2 separate regions of the Homo sapiens genome follow, and region 2 is linked to region 1. Evidence: promoter capture Hi-C in human tissues and cell types (Jung and others, 2019). All regions are on one chromosome and are shown on one strand. The core of a region is centred on a gene start or on the middle of the fragment in contact, and the rest is flanking DNA. Distances in the headings are between cores, read along the strand shown. Region 1 holds the start of SEC24A (SEC24 homolog A, COPII component). Region 2 overlaps DDX46 (DEAD-box helicase 46).

The links. Contacts are between HindIII fragments. The study calls those that stand out against the background at their distance.
Region 2: a fragment that was not itself captured here is called in contact with the fragment with the promoter of SEC24A in region 1 in 1 of the 25 tissues and cell types used here (aorta).

The regions. Positions count from the first base shown.
Region 1 is chr5:134,644,266-134,651,255 of GRCh38, forward strand. It overlaps SEC24A (SEC24 homolog A, COPII component), which reads left to right and starts at 4,520. Exons shown (of 23, transcript NM_021982.3): 1 at 4,520-4,908. The coding sequence starts at 4,812. RefSeq lists enhancers at 4,061-4,120, 4,131-4,420, 4,168-4,705. The HindIII fragment of the contact is 35,050 bases long and covers 1-6,990 here.
Region 2 is chr5:134,809,218-134,816,207 of GRCh38, forward strand. It overlaps DDX46 (DEAD-box helicase 46), which reads left to right. Exons shown (of 23, transcript NM_001300860.2): 17 at 2,004-2,141; 18 at 2,479-2,628. Among named protein-coding and RNA genes, the nearest start is that of C5orf24, 33 kb to the right of the region's middle. The HindIII fragment of the contact is 3,502 bases long and covers 3,443-6,944 here.

The sequences.
Region 1 (6,990 bases), core at 3,270-5,769:
AAACTCCTGACCTTGTGATCTGCTCGCCACGGCCTCCGAAAGCGCTGGGATTACAGGCGTGAGCCACTGCCCTGGGCCTACAATTTTCTTAACTAGGGTTGAAGGCTCTGAAAATATGCAGAAAATCATATAATGGCCTTATGAAGGTTGTATATATGGCAGAAGGATTCTGTTTTTCTGGACAATAAAGATAAAAAAGTAGAATATATTACTGACATCAGTTTAGAAAAATGTATAGTAGTGTAGTGTACATACAGGTAATTGAACAAAGAAATATCAATAACAATTGGTAAGAGCATTTTTTTTTTTTTTTTGAGACAGAGTCTCCCTCTGTCGCCCAGGCTGGAGTGCAGTGGCAAGATCTCAGCTCACTGCAACCTCTGCCTCCCAGGTTCAGCAATTTTCCCTGCCTCAGCCTCCCAAATAGCTGGGATTACAGGCGCCCGTCACCATGCCTGGCTAATTTTTGTATTTTTAGTAGAGACAGAGTTTCATCATGTTGGCCAGGCTGCTCTCGAATGCCTGACCTCAAGTGATCCACCCACCTTGGCCTACCAAAGTGTTGGGAATACAGGCGTGAGCCACAACGCCTGGCCAAGAGCAATTGTTATAATTGCTATCACCAATAATTTTTTCATATTTCTGTGGCCACACTTAAATGAGTCATCAAATGATTTGATATTGTGTGGATAATACTTAATATGAAAACTTTTAAAATATGTTGTCCCATCTCAGTTACTTAAACTTACCTTCCTACTATCCCAAAGGTTAGGCAGATGACAAATGCTGTTTTTCTTCTGTCTCTCTCTCTCTATATATATGTATATATGTATTCTGAGACAGGGTCTTACTCTGTTGCCTAGGCTGGAGTCCAGTAGCACAATCAACCTCCCAGGCTCAAGCGATCCTCCCATCTTAGTCTTCTGAGCAGCTGGGACTACAGGCATACGTCACCATGCCCAGCTAATTTTTTGTATGTTTTTGTAGAGATGGAGTTTTGCCATATTCCTCAGGCTGTTCTCCAACTCCTGGGCTTAGGGGATCCACTTGCCTTGGCCTCCCAAAGTCCTGGGATTATAGGCGTGAGCCACCATGCCCAGCTCTCCTCAATACTGTAGTGCTGATTACACCGAGAGTGTAAAAACCATTTGAAATACTTAATCATTGCTTTGAGGACACGAACAGTAACATAGCAACTTAGGGGTGGAACAAATTTTAGAGAAAGCATTGTTTACTTATTAGAAAATTATTTATGTTGATTTAACCTGATTTAACCAACTAGACTACTTTTTAAAATCTCTGGGGCCAGGCACGGTGGCTCAGGCCTGTAATCCCAGCACTTTGGGAGGCCAAGGCAGGTTGATCACCTGAAGTCATGAGTTCAAGACCAGCCTGGTCAACATGGTGAAACTCTGTCCCTAGTAAAAATACAAAAATTAGCTGGGCATGGTGACATGCGTCTGTAGTCCCAGCTACTCGGGAGGCTGAGGCAGGAGAATCACTTGAACCCGGGAGGCAGAGGTTGCAGTGAGCCGAGATCGCACCACTGCACTCCAGCCTGGCAACACAGCGACATTCCGTCTCAAAATAAATAAATAAATAAATAAATAAATAAATAAATCTCTGAACACACAGATATTGCTTAAATAGCTTGAACCCGGGAGGCAGAGGTTGCAGCAAGCCAAGGTCGCACCACTGCACTCTAGCCTGACGACAGAGCGAGATTCCGTCTCAAAAAAAAAAAAAAAAAAAAATCTCTGAACACACAGATACTGCTTAAATAGCACAAAGTTCAAAGAAACCTTGATTTAACCAAATCAAACCACTGTGCCAAGGTCAAAACAAATCAAGATCATTCAAAAGGAGCTGAATAAAAAGAGATAATTAAACTAATGCAGGTTTGAGATCAGGTATTTGCCTCTTTGAAGAGTGACCCTGATTTTGTCTGACCTCAGAAAGGTTGTTTCTCTCTGAGCTCTATTTCCTCTTCAAAACATTGAGAGGCTTGTGTCTGTGCAATTTTAAAGTGTTTTTGGATCTATAACTTGGGATTTTGTTATAGTGGCTCCAAACTGTAAACAATTTGACCAAAAGTATCATCTTCATCTTAAGATTTTAACTGGGCGTGGTGGCTCAAACCTGTAATCTCATTTTGGAAGGATGAGGCAGGAGGATCTCTTGCAAGACCTTCTCTTTACAAAAACAAACAAACAAACAAACAAACAAATAAAAACCTAGCCAGGCATAATGGCACACACCTGTAGTTCCAGCTACTCAGGAGGCTGAGGCTGGAGGACTGCTTGAGCCCAGGAGGTTGAGGCAGCAATGAGCTGTGACTGCACCACTGCACTCCAGCCTGGACAACAGACTGTCTCAAAAAAAAAAAAAAAGTTATTGTACTTGGATCTTGTACAAAGGAATTGAATTGTTAAATGCTACTTACAGCAAATATTTATTTATTTTTATTTTTTATTTTTTGAGACAGTCTTGCTGTGTCAGCCAGGCTGGAGTGCAGTGGCACAATCTTGGCTCACAGCAACCTCCGTCTCCTGGGTTCAAGCAATTCTCCTGCCTCATCCTCCTGAGTAGCTGGGATTACAGGCATGTGCCACCACACCTGGCTAATTTTTGTATTTTCAGTAGAGACAGAGTTTCACCATGTTGGCCAGGCTGGTTTTGAACTCCTGACCTCAGGTAATCCGCCCGCCTTGGCCTCCCAAAGTGCTGGGATTACAGTTGTAAGCTACCACGCCCGAGCAAATACATTTTTAGTAAAGTTCTGAGGCAAATGATGAAAACAGGGTTAGTATAAAATTTAGTATTTAGTTATTTGAATTTTTACTGACCTTTTTTAGGCCTGACACAGTGGTTTATTCTTTTTCTTTTCTTAGAGACAAGATCTCACTCTGTCATGCAGGCTGGAGTGCAGTGGTGAGATCACAGCTCACTGTAGCCTCGAACTCCTGGGTTCAGGTGATCCTCCCACATCAGCCTCCTGAGTAGCTGGGACTACAGGGATGTGCCACCACACTGGCCACTTTTTAAAAATTTATTTAATTAAAAACATTGGCTGGGCATGGTGGCTTACGCCTGTAATCCCAGCACTTTGGGAGGCTGAGGCGGGTGGATCAACTGAGGTCAGGTGTTCAAGACCAGCCTGGCCAACATGGTGAAACCCTGTCTCTACTAAAAATACAAAAATTAGCCAGGCATGGTGGCAGGAGCCTGTAATCCCAGCTACTCGGGAGACTGAGGCAGGAGAATTGCTTGAACCCAGGAGGCGGAGGTTGCAGTGAGCGGAGATGGCACCACTGCACTCCAGCCTGGGCAACAGACCAAGACTCTGTCTCAAAAATATATATATATATATATTTTTTAAATAGAGATAAGGGGACTCTCCCTGTTGTCCAGACTGGTCTCAAACTCCTGGCCTCAAGTAATCCTTCTGTCTCAGCCTCCCAAAGTGCTTGGATTACAGGAGTGAGCCACCTTGCCCAGCCCGACACAGTGGTTTAGATCTGGCTTTTTTTTGTATGTAATATAACACTTCATAGCAGGCATTTGGTATTAAATGAATTAGGTAAGATGTACTTCACACTGAGGTTTCGAAACCGCGTGGCATGACATTTTAATCCACAGTACAAATCTGTAAAGGAGGGCTTTATCGTCAGCACAGAGCAGGAAAAACCTAAATAGAATGAAGGCAGCTAAGATGATTACTCAATCATTAATTAACTATGTTGTCCAATCACCGCAGTTTCGACCTCCCTTTGGCTTCAAAAGTCAAAAAAGTCAACTTGCAAAAAAAAAAAAAGTCTACTTGCTCTGAAAGGAAGTTTGAGTTCTTTACCTTACTGTAAACTCTTAGAAGAGGAAACAAAACTGCCATTTAAATGTGCTAATGAACTTGAGCGTGACTATGCTGTGAATCAGCGAGTTTCAAAATTAAAATTCCTCTGAGTCCTCCAGTCAAAGACAAAGGCCTCCTTCTTGGCTTGATCACACTATTAACATGTACACATATTTAACCACCTCTTTTTAAAACCCCTTATAATTTACATCTGAAACACGAAGACGAAATGTGAATGAAATACTGCGATGAACATTAACCGCCCCAGCTCCCAGTGGTGGTACGGTCTCAACAGAGGACGATGACTTCTATGGTCTCAGGTAATCTTCACAAAACCCGAGGAGAGGAACTGTCAGTCCCACCCCACGAAAGCGGCTACTGAATCTCAGATTGCCCCACGATCCTGGCTCTGCGAGCGAGGTCACGTTCACAACGGCGGGAATTTCCGTAGCGGTGACACACGGCACTTCCGGCCGGCCGTGAGAGTCGGTGACGTGGCGGCGAGGCCGGGCACGGTCGTCGGGGTCGGGGCACCAGGAGCTGTCAGGTGGCCTCGGGGCAGCCCGGCTGGCAGAGAAGAGTTCGCCGGCGCGGCGGCGGCTGCTGCGAGCCCGGAGCCGGAAGTGCCACGTGTCCTGATTGCGGCTGCGCGGCCGGCGGCTGACAGGCACTTCCGGCCAGGGCCTCCCTCCTTCTCTCTAGGTTTGGCTGCCGCCTTCTAGCCGGGCGTTCGCGGCCCCGCCGGCCCGACTCTCAAGCCTCAGCTCCCAGGCTAGGCTGTGGCCGCCGGTGGCCTGGGGAGAGTGCGGCGCCATGCCTCGGGCTTAATGCGCCCCCCCCTCTTCTCCCAGTCTTCAGTCTTAAGTCGTTAGCCTCCTCCCTCCGCTTTCAGCAGTGGTCTTTCAGCTCTCTTCTTGTGCGCTGTTGTCGACCCCGACCAGCCCCTTCCAACCCAGTCATCATGTCCCAGCCGGGAATACCGGCCTCCGGCGGCGCCCCAGCCAGCCTCCAGGCCCAGAACGGAGCCGCCTTGGCCTCGGGGTCTCCCTACACCAACGGTGAGTGCTGTCCGGGGGGAGGGCGCAGCCTGGCCAGGGCTGACTGACCTTTGCGTGCCACTGCTGCTTGAGGCGACATAGATAGAGAGAGTGACCTCCTTACCGGGTTCTGGCGCGGATGGTGGTGGGCGGCTGGGCCAGGGGACCACGGCAGTTGTGCACCTGTAGCCCCAGGCTCGTCTCAGTCTTTCACATTTATTTAGTCGGTCACCAAAACAGTAAATGAGCACCTGCTGTATGCAACGCCCTGGGTGAAACACGGGTGAGAAAATGCCTCAAAACTCGAATATAAGGATCATAGTGTTTGTGTGCCTTCGCCTTCCTTGCCACCTCACCCCAGTCTCCTAGAGAGCAGGATGTGGGGTCTGATTCTTCTGGGTTCCGCAGGCCCTGAAGTGGGGTGGGGGTCGTACTCAGTCTGAGTTTCTGGAGATGAATGCATGCTTTTGGGACACCCCTTTAGGGCCTACTCATCTCTCCCAGAACCTTCCCAGAATTGTACCTACAACAGCTGTTCAATGTTTCAGCTGTGGAAAAACCAAATAGAAGGGAGGATCTCCTGGTTGACTTCTAGATGTCTGGACAGCATTTGGAAAGTGGGTGGACACAACTCTCTGAATCTCTGACAAGAGTCTACATGTACATTATAGTTTGTCATTTGATGTGAGAATGTCTTATAATTTTATACCTCTTCTAGGATTCCTTAAATCGTCCTACATTGTGATTTGCTAAGATTATTTCAGTTGTTACAATAGACAAAGACTTTCTGCCGACAGATTGCCTACTTACCAATTTACTTACAAATCTTTGGTTTACAGAAATAAGACTAGTAGAATAATGCTAAAGAACTTAAGTTGCCCATTAGAGTCTAAGAGTTCTGTGAAGTTGGAGAATACAGACAGTGACTAAAATCTCTAATTTACATTGTTTTTAGAGAAGACCGCTGTTTTCTTTACAAAGATGGCTCTAAAAGACTTTTAAAAATGTCTGTGAGTAGGCAACTATGTGGGCAGAAGAAAGAATAAGTGGAGGAAAGCCACTGAAAGGGTACTGAGTTAACCATTCTTTCTCAAAATTATGGTAACAGATTATGTACACTACATTTTATTCTAGAATATTTAGTAACATTTACACTGAGGATGAGAAAAAATGTTACATGGCTATGGATTTTTCTTATAATCTATAAATTGCAGTTTTACATTAACTTTAAATGACAAATCCTCAAATGTGCTTCAACATTTATATATGAGTGTAGTTGTCATAATATTGAAATGTTAAAGGGATTTGACCACTGTGGTATGCTGTATTAGAGATACTGTCACTATGTTGATTTGATACAGTCCAACAGACATTTGTTCCACATCTTTTTTTTTTTTTTTGAGATGGAGTCTTGTTCTGTTGCCCAGGCTGGAGTGCAGTGGTGGTGATCTTGGCTCACTGCAACCTCTGATTCCTGGGTTCAAGCGATTCTCCTGCCTCCTTAACCTTCCAAAGTGCTGTAATTACAGGCCTGATCCACGGTACCCAGACCTCTTTTTTAAAATATAATTTTCATAGTCTTTTTATAAGTTCCATTTCTACAGGGTTTTTTGTTTGTTTGTTTGTTTGTTTGTTTTTTGAGACGGAGTTTTGCTTTTGTCTCCCAGGCTGGAGTGCAATGGCGCTATCTCGGCTCACTGCAACCTCCTCCTCCCAGGTTCAAGCAATTCTCCTGCCTCAGCCTCTGAAGTAGCTGGGATTACAGGCACGTGTCACCACACCCAGCTAATTTTTATATTTTTAGTAGAGACGGGGTTTCACCATGCTGGTCAGGCTGATGTCAAACTCCTGACCTCTAGTGATCCACCCACCTTGGTCTCCCAAAGTGCTGGGATTACAGGCATGAGCCACTGTGCCTGGCCTCTACAGGTTTTTTGTATTTTGCCTTTTTTTTTTTTTTGAGACAGGATCTTACTTAAACTGTCCCTCAAGCTGGAGTGCAGTGGCAGGATCACAACTCACTGTCACTCCTGGGCTCAAGCAATCCTCACACCTCAGCCTCCCCAGTAGCTAGAACTACAGGTGCATACCACCAGGCCCCAT
Region 2 (6,990 bases), core at 3,944-6,443, 170 kb after region 1:
CATATTCTTCTCTTTCTCTCTCCTTCTCTGTATATATATGTGTTATTGTATATATGTTCATAACCCTATAAAAATGTAAATACTTGTAGCCCCGTAGGAGTACAAAAGCAGACCATGGGTCAAAGGCAGTGGCTATTTAGATATTTCTGTTTTTGTTTTTGTTTTTTTGAGATGGAGTCTCGCTCTGTTGCCCAGACTGGAGTGCAGTGGCATGATCTTGGCTCACTGCAACCTCTCCCTCCCAGGTTCAAACGATTCTCCTGCCTCAGTGTCCCAAGTAGCTGGGACTACAGGCGTGTGCCACCACGCCTGGCTAATTTTTTGTATTTTTAGTAGAGACGGGGTTTCTACTAAAACCTGTGTTAGCCAGGATGGTCTCGATCTCCTGACCTCGTGATCTGCCCGCCTTGGCCTCTCAAAATACTGGGATTACAGGCATGAGCCACTGCACCCGGCCAAGATATTTCTGAATTAAAATCTTAAACCATGTTTTAAAATTCGTAACAGTTGGCCGGGCGCGGTGGCTCACGCCTGTAATCCCAGCACTTTGGGAGGCCGAGGCGGGCGGATCACCTGAGGTTGGGAGTTCAAGACCAGCCTGACCAACATGGAGAAACCCTGTTTCTACTAAAATAAAAATAAAAAATTAGCCGGGCATGGTGGCATATGCCTGTAATCCGAGCTACTCGGGAGGCTGAGGCAGGAGAATAGCTTGAACCCGGGAGGCAGAGGTTGCGATGAACCAAGATTGTGCCATTGCACTCCAGCCTGGGCAGCAGGAGCAAAACTCTTGTCTCAGAAACAAACAAACAAAAAATCGCAACAGTTGACTGTTTGGGTCAGATTGTTTTTTTGGTTTTGTTTTTTACATTTTTGTGGAGATGTGGTCTTGCCATTTTTGCCCAGGCTGGCCTCCAACTCCTAGGCTCAAGCTATCTTTCCACCTCTGCCTCCCCAAGTGCTGGGATTACAGGTGTGAGCCATTGTACCCAGCAAGGTCAGATTGTTTTGTGAAGATAGCAAACTCTAGCGAGACTCCATCTCAAAAAAAAAAAGGAAAAACAAAAAACAAAATCAAAAGGTATGACCACACAATTGTGCATTTGTGTAAAATTACCTATGTTTCTTTTTTTTTTTTGAGACGGAGTTTCACTCTTGTCACCCAGACTGGAGTGCATTGGCGCCATCTCACATGCACTGCAACCTCCGTCTCCCAGGATCAAGTGATTCTCCTGCATCAGCCTCCCAAGTAGTTGGGATCACAGGCATGCCACCACCACACTCGGCTAATTTTTTTGTGTTTTTAGTAGAGATGGGGTTTCACCATGTTGGTCAGGCTGGTCTCGACCTTCTGACCTCAAATGATCCACCCCCCCTTGGCCTCCCAAAGTGCTGGGATTACAGGCGTGAGCCACTGCGTCCAGCCAATTGCATATATTTCTACCTCTGTGTAAAGAAATTAGAAATTTTCTAGTTTGCTTGTGTTATTTTAAAATATTAAACTTGGGCCGGGCACAGTGGCTCGTGCCTGTAATCCCAGCACTTTGGGAGGCCAAGGCGGGCGGATCACCTGAGGTCAGGAATTTGAGACCAGCCTGGCCGACATGGTGAAACCATGTCTCTAGTGAAAATACAAAAATTAGCCGGGCATAGTGGCAGGCGCCTATAATCCCAGTTACTCGGGAGGCTGAGGCAGGAGAATCACTTGAACCCGGGAGGCAGAGGTTGCAATGAGCCAAAACTGCGCCACTGCACTCCAGCCTGGGCAACAGAGTGAGACTCCATCTCAAAAAAATAAAAAACAACAAAAAATAAAAATTAAACTTGGATATTTCACTTTGAACCATTAAGTAATTTAGTAAGACTCTTTCGTGGCTTTTAAAATTCTTTAGTTAATGTTGTCAATCTCGAGGATTTATTAGGTGGATCAGATTTTATCTTATGATCTAAGTAGGATCCATCTTGTTAGTGTCTAATAATTGTACTTTTTCATCATGCATTAGGGTTATGCTTATACTTTTATCACAGAGGATCAAGCTCGCTATGCTGGTGACATAATTAAAGCTCTTGAATTGTCAGGGACTGCAGTACCTCCTGATTTAGAGAAACTGTGGAGTGATTTCAAAGATCAGCAGAAAGCTGTGAGTTTTTAACCCATGTTACTCTTCTAGAAATCATTAATGTGACTAAACCTTGATTATTTAATTCTTGGAAATCTTTTATTTAACACTTGAAAATTTTGCTACGACTATTTTTATTTCTCTCTAGAGGGAAAAATGAGTGAAAGCTAAAATCCTATCTTATTCTTGAACTTAGTATTTTGTGGTGTCTATGTAGAGCTCTTAGTTTATCTTACATGCTAGATGAAGTGTTTTTATTACATTGACATACACCACCTTGAAAAATATTTAATTAGTATGAATTCCTAAACATTAAAGTTTTTACTATGAGATTAACTTCGTTTTCTTTTTTTGAAAGGAGGGGAAAATAATTAAAAAGAGTAGTGGGTTCTCTGGTAAGGGATTCAAGTTTGATGAAACAGAACAAGCTTTGGCTAATGAGAGGAAGAAGTTACAAAAAGCAGCTCTTGGTCTACAAGATTCAGATGATGAGGATGCTGCAGTTGATGTAAGTACTATTATTCTCTCATTCTTAATTGAAGCAGTTATTTCTTTTGTACTGGAGGTCTTGCCATATATGGTTATCAAGATAGACAATCACTGGAAACCTTTACAAGAGGTTGGTTCCAGAACAGTTTTGGAAAATCTGCCTACTACATACCAGTACCCCTCCTCTCAATATATAGACCACTCATTAGCACTTCAAAGGATGTGAAAAGTCCTTTTTTTTTTTTTTTTTTTTTTGCGATGGGAGTCTGGCTGTGTCACCCAGGCTGGAGTACGGTGGCGTGGTCTCCATTCACTGTAACCTCCGCCTCCTGGGTTCAAGCAATTCTCCTGCCTTGGCCTCCTGAGTAGCTGGGATTACAGGCATCCACCACCACGCCTGGCTAATTTTTGTATTTTTAGTTGAGGCGGGGTTTAACCTTCTTGCCCAGGCTGGTCTCAGATTCCTGACCTCAAGTGATCCGCTTTCCTTGGCCTCCCAAAGTGCTGGGATTACAGGCGTGAGCCACCTCGTCTGGCCATGGATGTGAAAAGTCTTTAACGAATCTTGTTTAACTTCATTAAACCCAGAAATTCCCCAACATACCTGATCTCAGAACACTTTTGGACATATCATGTTAAACTTAAGTTCAGAAAATAATTTTGGAAATCAGAAATTCAACCTGATCTTATCATTAGGAAATTGACTCCAAGAAAAGATGTTAGGTCCAGGACCACAGTGGGAGTTAACACAGACAGGACCAGAACCCAGTTGTCCTATTAACCTTAAGCCATTTCTTTCTAGGATACCATACTAGCTCAAAAAATTAGCCGGGCGTGTCTTGCTCTGTCACCCAGGCCAGACTGCAGTGTCGTAATCTCAGCTCAACTGCAACCTCTGCCTCCTGGGTTCAAGCGATTTTCCTGTTTCAGCCTCCCTAGTAGCTGGGATTACAGGCACCCACCACCACGCCCGGCTGATTTTTGTATTTTTAGTAGAGATGGGGTTTCACCATATTGGCCAGGTTGGTCTCAAACTCCTGACCTCAGGTGATCCACCTGCCTTGGCCTCCCATAGTGTTGGGATTATAGGTGTGAGCCACTGTGCCTGGCCAATAAAGTCATTTTTTTTTTTTTGAGACGGAGTCTCGCTCTGTCACCAGGCTGGAGTGCAGTGGCTTGATCTTGGCTCACTGCAACCTCTGCCTCTCAGGTTCAAGTGGTTCTCCTGCCTCAGACTCCCAAGTAACTGGAACGACAGGCACGCGCCACCATGCTTGGCTAATTTTTTTTGTATTTTTACTAGAGACAGGGTTTCACCATGTTGGCCAGGATGATCTTGATCTCTTGACTTCGTGATCCGCCTGCCTCGGCCTCCCAAAGTGCTCAGATTACAGGCGTGAGCCACCACGCCCGACCACATTTCATTTTTTAAATTTATCTGTTACCATGTAACAAATCAAAACTTAGCAGGTTAAAGCAATAAACACTTATTATCACATAGTTCCTTATGGTCAGGAAATCAGGAGCAGTTTAGTCAGGTAGTTCTGGCTTAGGCGCTCGTGAGATTGCAGTCATCTGCAGGCTTGACTGTTGCTGGATGATCTGCTTCCAACATCAGTCACTTTGATGTAGATAGGATGCCTCAGTTCTTCACCTCTTTGCCTGTCCTTACCCACATGGCAGCTGGCTTTCCCCACAGTGAGTGATCAAAGAGAGCAAAGAGAAAGCTTTAGTGCTTTTTATGACTGTCTCTGAAATTACACACTGTCACTTCCACTTTATTCTTTATGGGGTTTTTTTTGTCTTGTTTTGTTTTGTTTTGGAAACAGAGTCTGACTCTGTTGCCCAAACTGGAGTGTAGTGGTGCGAACTCAACTCACTGCTGCCTCAGCGATCTTCCCACCTCAGCCTCTTGAGTAGCTGGTACTATGGGTGCACCACCATGCCCTGTTAATATATATTTTAAAATGTTTTTTTTTTTAGAGTCGAGGTCTCACTGTGTTGCCTAGGTTGGTCTGAAATTCCTGGGCTCAAGTGATCCTCCTGCCTCAGCCTCCCAAAGTGATGGTATTACAAACATGAGCCACCATGCCCAGCCCACTTTCTTCTATTAGAAGGAAGTCATTAAGTCCAGCCCACACTCAAGAAAAAAGACTATTAAATAATTTGTAGCCATGTTTTAAAAACATCTGTCACTTTTTGACATTATGGTAGTTTCCTCTTTTCTGTGGTTTTAGTTGCCATAGGTTAACCACAGTCTGAAACTATTACAGTATTTTGAGACCACATTCATATAACTTTTATTACAGTATATTGCTATAATTGTCCTATTTTATTGTTGTTAATCTCTTAACTGTACCTAATTTATAAATTAAACTTTATCATAGGTATGTATGTATAGGAAAAAACAGTGTATGTCGGTGCGGTACTATCTCTGTTTTTAGGCATTCACTGGGGTTCTTGGAATGTATTCCATGTGTAAAGGGAAAACTGCAGTATTTTTAACTGTTTTTTAAAATCTTGTGATAAAATACGGTGATTGTTTCTTCGGGTGTTAAAGTAATATATAATTTTATGAAAAATGTAAACAGTACTTAACACGAATAAAATCAAAAGTAAGGTTAGCTCTACCAGCTAGCATTGTATACTTCCCCCTTTCCTGATTTTATGAATTTGTTCAGATTGTAATACCATGAATGCTATTTAATTTAAAACGGTTTTACTCAGGTAAATGTTGAGTTTTAAAACTAGTTGATAACTGACCCCCTGTTGGTGTTTTCTTGGGGTTTTGTTTTGTTTTGTTTTTATGAGACAGGATCTCACTCCATCAACCAGGCTGGAGTAAAGTGGCGTGATCTTGGCTCACTGTAGCCTCGACCTCCTGGGCTCAGGTGATTCCCCACCTCAGCCTTCTGAATATCTGGGACTACAGGCATGTGCCACCATGCCTGGGTAACTTTTATATTTTTTGTAGAGACAAGGTTTCGCCATGTTGCCCAGGCTGGTCTTGAACTCCTGGGCTCAAGTAATCCTCCTGCCTTGAACTCTCAAAATGCTGGGATTATAGGCAGGAGCCACTGTGCGTGGCCATAACTAAAACCCTTTAATAGGTAATAAATGTTTTAAGAAGAATCTAAGGCTGGGTGTGGTGGCTCATGGCCTGTAATCCCAACACTTTGGAAGGCCATGGTGGGAGGATAGCTTGAGCCCAGGAGTTCAAGACCCTCCTAGACAACACAGTGAGACCCCATCTCTATAAAAAGGTTTTTAAAAATTAGCTGGACGTGCTAGTGCACGCTGTGGTCCTAGCTACTTGGGAGGCCGAGATATGAGGAACCCTTGAGCCTGGGAGTTAAAGGCGACCCTGTCTCAAAAAAATACAAAAGCTAAACGGACTGTTTTTATTGTAGTAAAAGAGCTTTGTAAATTAACCAATTAATTTTTAAGCCCTAAATAAGCTTTTCTGTGCATTTGAGATCTAGAAGATACAGCTTTATTAATCTGATCTAAATTTCTGAAGGGGGCTTGTATTTCTGTAATCAGTGATATCAGTAGTCACTGTTGGGCAAAGGGCATTTTTTAAAAGAAATGCACATAGCAGGCTGGCGGTGGTGGCTCATGCCTGTAATCCCAGTGCTTTGGGAGGCCAAGGTGGGCGGATCACGAGGTCAGGAGATGAGACCATCCTGCCTAACACGGTGAAACCCCATCTCAACTAAAAATACAAAAAATTAGCCAGGTGTGGTGGCGGGCACCTGTAGTCCCAGCTACTCAGGAGGCTGAGGCAGAAGAATGGCGTGAACCTGGGAGGCGGATCTTGCAGTGAGCTGAGATGGCGCCATTGCACTCCAGCCTGGGAGACAGAGCGAGACTCTGTCTCAAAAAAAAAAAAAAAAAAAAAAAAAAGAAATGCACCTAGCAGTAGGGCTCATGTGACTCCTGTCAAAGCAAAGCATTCATCATTGCGCTTGCCTTGATGGGGAAACAACCTGCATTTGTTTCCTTTCTTGATTCAAAGGAATAAGGGAATAAGCCTTTTCTGGTTCAGTTACCCAGTTTTTAAGGCAAATCCAATTGGATTTTATGGGTTGGGAAGAGTTTTGAGAGCTTTACCTTAGGAACATGTTATATCACTCCCCCTGAGAATTATTGACTATATTTTTAGTAGGCCACTGACCTTGAGTTATAGTCCTTCTTCCAGCCTGTTTCATTGCAGTATAATTTGGTCTCAAGGCCTGAGCCCTGGGGTAAGTCAGCTGCATCCTATTGGCTATTCTGTCTTGAAAGCACATGTTTCCTCATTTATTGAACAGGGATGAAGTTTCTGGTCCTCTCAGGAGTCTGATGACGTGGTTCATGCAATGTTGTTTCTCTGTTTTCT